Linked DNA regions of Homo sapiens: region 1 is linked to region 2. Evidence: promoter capture Hi-C in human tissues and cell types (Jung and others, 2019). All regions are on one chromosome and are shown on one strand. The core of a region is centred on a gene start or on the middle of the fragment in contact, and the rest is flanking DNA. Distances in the headings are between cores, read along the strand shown.

Region 1 (5,223 bases), core at 2,724-5,223, 250 kb before region 2:
TTAAACACTTTCTAGCAAAGAAAAGTAGATAATGCCAGAAAGATAATAGACAAATGAACCGTTTAAAAAAAAAATCTTATTTACAGAACCACCTCTCTCTCCCCCTTTATATTTACTAACTTGTCTTTACTGTCTGTCCACAATGAATACAGCACAGTGTATGTATCTGTGTGTACAGCAAAGACCTACAGTTATATGAATATAGCACTGTGTGGGATACTTTAAAAAAAAAAAAAAAAACAACTAGCCAGGCGCGGTGGCTCACACCTGTAGTCTTAGCACTTTGGGAGGCTGAGGCAAGTGGATCACGAGGTCAGGCACTCGAGACCAGCCTGGCCAACATAATGAAACCCCATCTCTACTAAAAATACAAAAAATTAGCTGGGCGTGGTGGTGGGTGCCTGTAATCCCAGCTACTCAGGAAGCTAAGGCAGGGGAATCGCTTGAACCTAGGAGGCGGAGGTTGCAGTGAGCCGAGATGGCACCACTGCACTCCAGTCTGGACAACAGTGTGAGACCCTGTCTCAAAAAAACAAAACAAAACAAAAAAACAAACTAGCTCTCCTATGAACCAGCCACCCCATTAGGTGTTTCCTATTTGTTATTTTGTTTTATCTTTTTAGCAACCTAATGAAAGACTTCAATTTTCCTGTTTACTTGTCTGTCTCCTTTATTAGTACAACTTCATATTGCTAGCACCTAGCACAGCACTAGAAACAGATCTTTCTAATTCCTTATTTTTCAAGAGGTTGGTCAAATGGATGGCTATGGATATGAAGAACTATCCCTGAAAGAGTGCAAGCTTCCTTTGTCATCTGCTTGCAAAAGACTGTCACCTGCCTGGAAAAGTTAATAATGTGACTCTTTGTATTAGAATTCAAGACAACATGCCCTCAAGGTCCCAACTGGTTCCACCAACCCCTACTTAAGAGAAACATGTTTCCTTTCAGATTGAAACTGCTAAAAAGACCAATGTCTGGTAGGTTCCCAGTTGTTGGTGAGGTTGAACATCTCCCTCTTGGCCTGCTTGCTTTCCCTGTTTTCTTTCTTTTTCCTCCGTTGTTCCCTTCCTTCTTCTTTTCCTCCTTCCTTCCTTCCCTCTTGTCTCCCCACTGCTCCATCTCCCTCTCCCTCTTTCCGTCCTTTTCAGCTACCTTTGGAGTTACAATTGCAGGGCAAACAGCGGTCCCTTTCTCTGTGCCGGTAAAAGCCATTCTTGCACTTCTCGCAGTGAATGCCATCAGTGTTGTCATTGCAGTTGAGGCAGCGGAATCCATTACCAGTTTGTCTGTGAAGTTCCCGATCAAAGATACACTGCCTGGACTTCCCATTGCAATCACAGACTGGGGAGGAAGCATACAAAAGAGATCGTCAAAAAAAAAAAAAAACACCTCAGGAACTGTTCTAGCAGGTGTTTATGTTATTATTGATAGAAATTATGCATGAGTACTATATGGTAACCTACACTCCTTGCGGGAGGAAGATATGGGAGTGCAATTGGCAGTGCAGGGACCCCGGGGACGCCTGCTCCACTTAAAGGAAGTAGGCACTATGCAATGCTGGTGGGCTGCTGTCTGGGAGAACATGGGCTCAGGGTTGCCAGACTGTCCAGTTCCTCGAGAGAAACCCAAAATGTTAAATTACATTTTTATGCGGATATTTCTGATTTAAATGTTTGCAAGGAGTTCATTTCAAAACACTGCAATCCCACAGAGCAAGTGTGTGGGCTCACGGAGACCTGAGGATGGGCAGCTGCGGACTCAGCACAGCTATTAGCCGATGGTGTCGCTGCTCAAGATACACAACACCCATCCCACCGGTGCCCGTCAAGGCAAAGGAGTGGACGTGACCGTCTGGGCACATGTCTCCTCCCAAAGCCAAGTGTCCCATGAAGAATGACCTTTCTCAAGTATCTAGGAAGCCCATCCTGCAGATGTTCCAAAGAGACTCGCAAAGTGACTAACATCTCCATAAGGACCCGAACAGCAAAGAAGCGAAACACGGAAACACCCAGCATAGTACCCGGCACACTGAGACACCAAAAAATGTTTCCGTCATGGTCTCGGAGAGAGAGATGATGGGCCTTCAGGTTAAAAGGAAAGAATCAAATACCAATTCTGCTATTTCCTTGGGCACATCACTTCAATTTTCTGAATCTTGTTTTTTCTTCCATACAGACTGCATTATCTGCCTCCCTGGATTGTAAAGAGGATCCCTCTGGGAAAAGAATATCAAATGCCTTTGCATATGCGATTTCATCACTCACTCCATGAAACACGTACTGCCTCAGAAGAGAAACATGCAGCTCGGAAAGGTGAAGTAACTCCACCCAGTGGAGAACTGAGATTTGAACCTCTGCCTGATGCGAACACCAACCTCCCTTCCCTACACAGGCTGTCTCTGTTGGCCATGCTGCCATATTGAGAATATGTTTCTAGGGCGTGACTTAACCATAGTGCTGACAATAAAGTCAACAGATGTGCCATCACCTGCTGAGTGGCTCCCTGTGCAGGCTCTGTGTCAGGCACTGACAATACAAGGGGACAATGTACATCTTTTTTTTTTTTTTTTTGAGACCAAGTCTTGCTCTGTCGCCCAGGCTGGAGTGTGGAGTGCAGTGGCATGATCTCAGCTCACTGAAACCTCTGCCTCCTGGGTTCAAGTGATTCTCCTGCCTCAGCCTCCCAAGTAGCTGGGATTATAGGTGCGCACCACCATGCCCAGCTAATTTTTATATTTTTGGTAGAGATGGGGTTTCGCCAGTGTTGGCTAGGCTGGTCTCAAACTCCTGACCTCAGGTGATCCGCCTGCCTCGGCCTCCCAAAGTGCTGGGATTACAGGCGTGAGCCACCGTGCCCAGCGGTGACCACGTACATCTAATGGACCTGCTAAGTGACTGCCTTACAGTAATTTCTATAACTCACTCTTTCTACTTTGGATGACATCTAATCTAGAAAAGTCAGCTAACACTTATCCAAAGCATACTGTTTCTAGGACTTTACATTCGACAGCTCAGTTAATTCTCACAACATTTTAACATGGGTTTTATTATCCCCATTTAATAGATGGAAAAACAAATACTCAGAGAGGCTAGGTATCTTGCCTAAAGTCACACAGCTAAATGGCAAAGATGTAATTTGCTCCCAGATGTGTCTGACTCCAAAGCCCTCATCTTTCCATTTTATGTTCCTTCTCAAGATTGAGTTTACCATTGCATGTAGACATTCTTTTTATAAATCCCTAATAGAGGGTCATTCAGCTTGGTTGTTACAAACAGTAACATTTTTATATGGTGTTTTAAATCTACCTCTCTTTCTGTAATTTTCATCATGTGTTTTTGCTCTTGCCTGAAAACATACACACACAACACACACAGATACATACAGCACTCAGGCACACACAGACACACACACACACACACCCCTACTCTCTTTTTATTCTTTTATTTATCCAACAGACATAATCTTTGGGTGTTGTTTTACATCCAAAGGGCCCTGCGTCATCAGGCTTTTGTGAATCTGAAGATAGCTATGGCATCTCCCTCCTTAGTCTTTTCCTGTTCAAGTTGGACTACAGATCTGTCATCTCCAAGTCTTTCAACCACTTCCTATGTCATAATTTCTAGATTCTTCTTGACTACCATCCTAGGAACAAATTCTAATTTCCAGTATCCTTCTTCATATGACCAGTACTGCAAGTGTGATTTAAACAGCTTGGCTTGTAACAGGACTAGATATTTTTATCCCATGGGCAAAGACTAACATTTCAGTGAACTTACAGCATATTACATTTGCACACAATTCAAAGTCCCAGGGCTTTTCTCAGAACTAGTGCCAAGCTGAATCTTTCCCAACCAATGCTTGTGAAACTGATTTTTTGGATCTCCAACAGATGTGCCACACAGCTGTCATGTGCTGTGAAATTTGTACCAAGTACATGACTATGCACGTACAAGAGCTAAATTCACTGTTCAGCAGTCCTTGCGAGGTTCTTCATCTGGCTAACCCAATGAGCCAATGCCCTCCCTGCCCTGGATGCCTTTTGGAAGCAATCTCAAAATAACTACAAATTTTTCATTGTGCCTTTCTTATTTAGAACATGGGCTGGGCACAGTGGTTCACGCCTGTAATCCCAGCAGTTTGGGAGGCCAAGGAGGGTGGATCACCTGACGTCAGGAGTTTGAGACCAGCCTGGCCAACATAGTGAAACCCCGTCTCTACTAAAAATACAAAAATTAGCTGGGAGTGGTGGCAGGTGCCTGTAATCCCAGCTACTTGGGAGGCTGAGGCAGGAGAATCACTTGAACCTGGGAGGAGGAGGTTGCAGTGAGCTGAGATTGTGCCATTGCACTCTACTGTGGGTGACAAGAGCAAAATTCTGTCTCAAAAAAGAAAAAAAAAAGAACATGCTTTGTGGTGGTAAAAATTAACTTCATAAGGGCAGCTCATTATATATTTATTCAGAGCAATCTTTTCAAAATATATAAACTTGTTATAATCTTTTTCTATCACATCCCTCTTCTGTCTCCTCCTCTAAAGCTCTACTTTGAAAATAATAGGTGTCCTTCTTTTATTTTAATTTTTATTTTTATTGAGACAGGATCTCACTCTGTTGTCCAGGCTGGAGTGCTGTGTCACAATCTCAGCTCACTGTAGCCTCAACCTCCTGGGCTCAAGCGATTCTCCAACCTCAGCCTCCCAAGTAGCTGGGAATAGAGGCGTGTGCCACCATGCCCAACTAATTTTTGTAGTGGTTTTTTTTTTTTTTTCTGTTTGTTTGTTTTTTGTTTTTGTAGAGACGGGGTTTCACCATGTTGCCCAGTCTGGTCGTAAACTCCTGGATTCAAGCAATCCGCCTACCTTGGCTTCTCAAAGTGCTGGGAATTACAGGTGTGCACCACCATACCCAGCCTATTTTCTTTTGTGTTATTTTTGAGACAGAGTCTCACTCTGTCACCCAGAGTGGAGTGCAGTGGTGTGATCACGGGTCACTGCAGCCTCAACCTCCCGGGCTCAAGCCATCTTCTCACTTCAGCCTCCCGAGTAGCTGGGACCACAGATGCATGCCACAACACTCAACTAAATGTGTTACTTTTTGGTAGAGACAGGTTCTCGTGGTATTGCCCAGGCTGGTCTTAAACTCCTGGCCTCAAGCAATCCTCCCACCTCAGCCTCCCAAAGTGCTGGAATTACAGGCATGAGCTACCATGCCTGCCCCATTGTC
Region 2 (5,355 bases), core at 1,177-3,676:
TGGGACACCTACCTTTTAACCAGAGACGGGACTCCAGAAAGACTGTGCCCTCTGAGACCACACTGCCCAGAATCTCCTTCAGATGGGCCTAGCTTTCCTTGTCCTGGTGACTCTGGTGTGATTCCTAGTTGAAGACTGGCTCAGCAGGAAGAGGACTAGAGGGCGAGCCAACAGAGCTTCCACTTGGGATTGCGGCAGAAGGTTGAGAACACAAAGACCCCTTGAAGAATGACCAAGAAACGCAGTGGCCATGGGTGGAACTGAAAGCCGATCTTGAGCCTGGGCATTGGGAGCTCTGTGTTGGGAGAAGGGAGTCATTGTAGGAAAAAGGGACAGTGGTATTCCATTTGTCAAAGCATCCTGGAGGAGACAGGAGGTGGGAGAAACAAGCTAAATTTCTTTGGGAGGCAAAAAAAAAGAAAAAAGTTGTTTTAAAAACTCAGCTTAAGTATCCCTTCTTTGGAGAAGAAAGGTCCTTTTCTCCTACAATGTGGAATATATGTGTATATATATACACACACACACACACACACACACGCATATATATACACACATAAATAAATACAAATTATTTGTGTGTATATAAATATATATATGTATGTATTTATGTGTATTTACATAAATAAAAGCATGGTCCTTACCAAACACAATCATCTACTGACCCATCTGTATCTTTCACTAGGATTACGAGGGCAGGGATTTGGTCTTTTACCTCTATAACTGTGGCATCTACGCATTGTGTGGCATGTAACAGATTTCTAACAAGTATTTGCCTTTTGGAGGAAAAGGGAGCTGTTGCTGTTTTTAAACTTTGGCCCAGGACAGGTGGTCTTTATTATTCAGAACCTAAGAATTAAAAAACCCATAATTTATCAAAAACAAACTTTTGAAGAAACACTAGAGTAAAACATTTGTGTGTGTGTGTGTGAGTGAAATATGCAGTTAGTATTGTTATAAACAAAGTCCAGGACTCAACGAAAGGAATAAAGTAAGAATAGAATTGAAACATGATGCATGTTGTAATTATTCCCTAAACTACAGTAACATGATGTTAATTTTTTTTTTTTTTTTTTTTTTGAGACGGAGTCCCGCTCTTTAGCCTAGGCCGGATTGCAGTGGCGCAATCTCGGCTCACTGCAAGCTCCGCCTCCCAGGTTCACGCCATTCTCCTGCCTCAGCCTCCCGAGTAGCTGGGACTACAGGCGCCCGCCACTGCGCCCGGCTAATTTTTTGTATTTTTAGTAGAGACGGGGTTTCACCGTGTTAGCCAAGATGGTCTCGATCTCCTGACCTTGTGATCCGCCCGCCTCGGCCTCCCAAAGCGCTGGGATTACAGGCGTGAGCCACCGCGCCCAGCCACATGATGTTAATATTTTCCTCAAAATAAACTCAGAATTTAACATAGTGTTCTTCCAGACGAGTGTGAAGGAAGGCAGGTGTTTTCCCAATGCTGTTCTCCTTGGGAGCTGTCAGCTTCAGTGCAGTATTTCACAGCTAGACTGTGAACAAACGTTAATTCCAATTGGCTCAATATACATTCAACAGTAAAATACCAGAAGTGAGTGGTCTCTGTTGTTCTCCAAAATGTATGATCTGGAACAGACTTTTATCGTGAAAGTGTTCATAGTTTGCACACATCACTCCCAGCTGGAAGTTGTTGTCCAGTTTAACAGTTATATAATATAATCTTTTATGTGAGAATTTTGAATAGCACAACAGAGACAAGAAAACAGACTAACTTCTCCTTGGTATGACCACATCTTGGCAAAAAGTGAAAGTCCTATTTAAAATGTAAAGGAAATCCTATTTGGTGAACCCTGTAATAGGTGGGGGCTAAAAGGGAAATCTAGGTTGCTGGATTTGTCACTAGGGTTTCCTCTAGTAATAGCCAGAGGGTTCCAGTTAGTGTCACCTCCCAGTATGAAAATAAATTTTCTTTCAGGCTTTGTTTGTGGAGTGGTAGGTGGAGCATTTTTTTAGGTCCTGATGACCTGGAAGGTGACTCATAATCACCCTGAAACGTATGAGGACCCTAAGGAAACCTCCCCTGGGGGAGACAGAGGGCTGGGGTTAGAGCCATTGCGTTGGGCTCGTCTGGCACCTTCTGGTGTGTGCGGCACCTGGTGGGGGTTCGGCACGGAGCCGCACCCAACACTGACCCGGGCCCCCCCACCCCTGTCCTGAGCCCAGGCGCTTCGCCCTGTCCCACCTAGCTCTGAGCAGCGCCCCCCAGCACCCTGAATGCGTCCGCAGGACCCCGCGCTCTACCCGCAGGCCCCGCACCCCCTAGCTCTGGGCCGCGCCTCACATCCCTCCCAGAGCCGCAACACCCCACCCGGCGGGACGCCCTCGAGCAGCCGCTCGTTGCGGGCCTGAAGCGCAGAGCGCCTATTGGCCAGAGCGGCCGAGGGCGGGAAAAGTGGCCAACGGCTGCCTCGGCCCTCGGGCTGCTGAGGAGATGGCGTCGGGCTCCAAGGCCTCGGTGCCCGCGGACTCATTCCGCACCATCAGCCCGGACAGGCGAGGCGAGAAGTCCGCCTCCGCTGTCTCCGGGGACACGGCGGCCGCGACCACCCTGAAGGGCACCGCGATCCCAGTGCGGTCGGTGGTGGCCTCCCCTCGCCCGGTGAAGGGGAAAGCGGGCCGGGAGACGGCCAGGCTGCGGCTCCAGCGCCTGCCCGCGGCTCAGGCCGAGGACACGGGAGAGGCGGCGGCGGCGGCGGCGGAGGAGCCCCTGCTGCCAGTGCCTGAGGATGAAGAGGAGGCGCAGCCCCTGCCCCCAGTCTGCGTGTCCCGTATGAGGGGGATGTGGCGGGACGAGAAGGTGTCGCTGTATTGCGACGAAGTGCTGCAGGACTGTAAGGTGAGCGGATCCGGGACAGGAAGACTACGGTCGGAAGCTCGTCGGAACCTGGGGACAGGCATCTGGGGCTTCCCTCTTAGGCGGATGGGGATCCACAGGGCACAACGAAAACTTGCGTTTCAAAAAAGTAAATGGAGTCAACATGTATAGAGCGTTCACCTTGTTAGAGGTGCCCGCGTCCTGCCCTAGAGGAGTTAAGGTTCGAGTTTCCGACAAAATTCGTCAGGTAACGGGACAGCCCTGAGAGAGAATTTTCTGAGAGCTCCTAAAAAATGAAGATATATTGGCCTTATCATTGCACAGGCATGAATCTTGGTACCTTTATTTAACAGTTTATGTCCAAACATGAGTAAGATCACTTAGCCTTGACTTTTACACTAGAATGCTAGAAATTACTTTAAGGGTACTTCCCACTCAGCAGTCCACAATGCGGCATGATATATATGTGTGTGTATATATATATATAAATGTGTGTGTGTGTGTGTGTGTGTGTATATATATATATATATATATATATATATATATATATATATATATTTTTTTTTTTTTTTTTTTTTTTTTTTTTTTTTTTTGGAGACGGAGTTTCATTCTTGTTGCCCATGCCGGAATGCAGTGGGGCAATCTCGGCTCACACAACCTCCGCCTCCCGGTGCAAGCAATTCTCCTGCCTCAGCCTCCCGAGTAGCTGGGATTACAGGCATGAGCCACCACGCCTGGCTAATTTTGTATTTTTTTTTAGTACAGATGGGGTTTCTCCAGTTGGTCAGGCTGGACTCGAACTCCCGACCTCAGGTAATCTGCCCGCTTCGGCCTCCCAAAGTGTTGGGATTACAGGCATGAGCCACCGTGCCTGGTGGCATGACTTTCTTTTATAGAAAATACATATCTGATAAAACGGAATAGAGCAAATATTTCATGTTTCTAACCTATTTTTTTAAGTTGTAGCAGAAGAATTTGTGTACCTGCATATTCACTGCAGTGATATTTATAAAAAGTTGAAAATTAAGACATAAACAATAACTAGCTGTCTTATCTATGAATTATTCGAGTGAATAGATCTCTTTTAAGTTTAATTTTTTGTTGGTGATGTTTTCCACTAGATGCGGTTTCAGTTAAAATCTGTAATTTTCCAGGTCATTCATTATTTAAGGCTATATTGGTTCCATTTTAAAATAGAAATCAGTAAAAAAAAAAAAAACCACTTAGTTTAAAATCTATAATTTCATATATTTATATGTAGATCCATTTTTTCTCTTGTTAGGCAGAAGATGCTGATGAAGTTATGGGTAAATACCTATCAGAAAAATTAAAGTTGAAAGACAAATGGCTTGGAGTCTGGAAGACTAATCCCAGTGTATTCTTTGTGAAATATGAAGAAGCTTCTATCCCTTTTGTTGGTATATTGGTTGAGGTAAATAAATTTTATTTGATCTTTGTTCTTTTTGAATCAGTTCTTTTAAAGACTAAAATATGACTTTATTATTTGGAGATTGATACACAAGAGTTGACACATTTTTACTTCTGTTTTAAGTTTCCGAGAAAATTAATAGTGTAAAAAGAAGGTTAGGGGAATATTAGTGCCTGTAAACCATTATCATTAAATGGAATCTAGTAGTATCAGACAATATTTATTAGCCTAGTTTTTGCTCAACTAATGTAAAAATAACAAAAATGCATTTCTTATAAAATTAGTGATTCAGTCTTTAACAAACTTGGGCCTTCTTTTTCTGTCTTTTCCCTTTAATCTTCATTTATCTGAATTAAGAAGTTTAGTTCAGATGAGGAAAAAAAAAGAAATGGATCAGAAAACTACTGGGAAAATTTGAAATTTTTTTCCTTTGAAAAGTACCCTTTTTAGGGAGGCTGAGGCAGGAGAATGGTGTGAACCCAGGAGGCGGAGCTTGCAGTGAGCTGAGATCATGCCACTGCACTCCAGCCTGGGCAACAGAGTGAGACTCCGTCTCAAAAAAAAAAAGTACCCTTCTAGTATAATATCTTCCAAGCCTTTATCTGATAAGATTTTTCTTTTTTTTTTCTTTTGAAACAGAGTTTCGTCCTGTCGCCCAGGCTGGAGTGCAGTGGTGTGATCTCGGCTACTGCAACCTCTGCCTCCCCGGTTCAAGCGATTCTCCTGCCCCAGCCTCCCGAGTAGCTGGGATTACAGGCGCATGCCACCATGCCCAGCTAATTTTTTGTATCTTTGGTAGAGACGGGGTTTAACCCTGTTGGCCAGGCTGGTCTTGAACTCCTAACCTTGTGATCTTTAGCAGAGAAGGGGTTTCACCATGTTGGCCAGACTGGTCTCGAACTCCTGGCCTCGTGATCTGCCTGACTCAGCCTCCCAAAGTGCTGGGATTACAGGCATGAGTCACTGCACCCGGCCCTAATAAGATTTTTCTTTGTTAGGCCTGTAGGCTAAACATTGTGGCATGTTTGATTCTGTTAAAGGTCAATTATCCTTATATAGAAATTAATATTTATAACCACAAATG

The links. The method cuts DNA at HindIII sites, captures the fragments that hold promoters and counts their contacts. A contact is called where the count stands out against the background at its distance.
Region 1: a contact is called between a fragment that was not itself captured here and the fragment with the promoter of SHCBP1L in region 2, in 6 of the 25 tissues and cell types used here (bladder, heart left ventricle, liver and 3 more).

What each region holds. Positions count from the first base shown.
Region 1 is chr1:183,204,001-183,209,223 of GRCh38, reverse strand. It overlaps LAMC2 (laminin subunit gamma 2), which reads right to left. Exons shown (of 23, transcript NM_005562.3): 2 at 1,155-1,343. Among named protein-coding and RNA genes, the nearest start is that of LAMC2, 20 kb to the right of the region's middle. The HindIII fragment of the contact is 8,578 bases long and covers 1-5,223 here.
Region 2 is chr1:182,950,237-182,955,591 of GRCh38, reverse strand. SHCBP1L (SHC binding and spindle associated 1 like) reads left to right here and starts at 2,426. Exons shown (of 10, transcript NM_030933.4): 1 at 2,426-2,863; 2 at 4,125-4,274. The coding sequence starts at 2,459. It also overlaps the pseudogene LOC100271717. The HindIII fragment of the contact is 8,802 bases long and covers 1-5,300 here.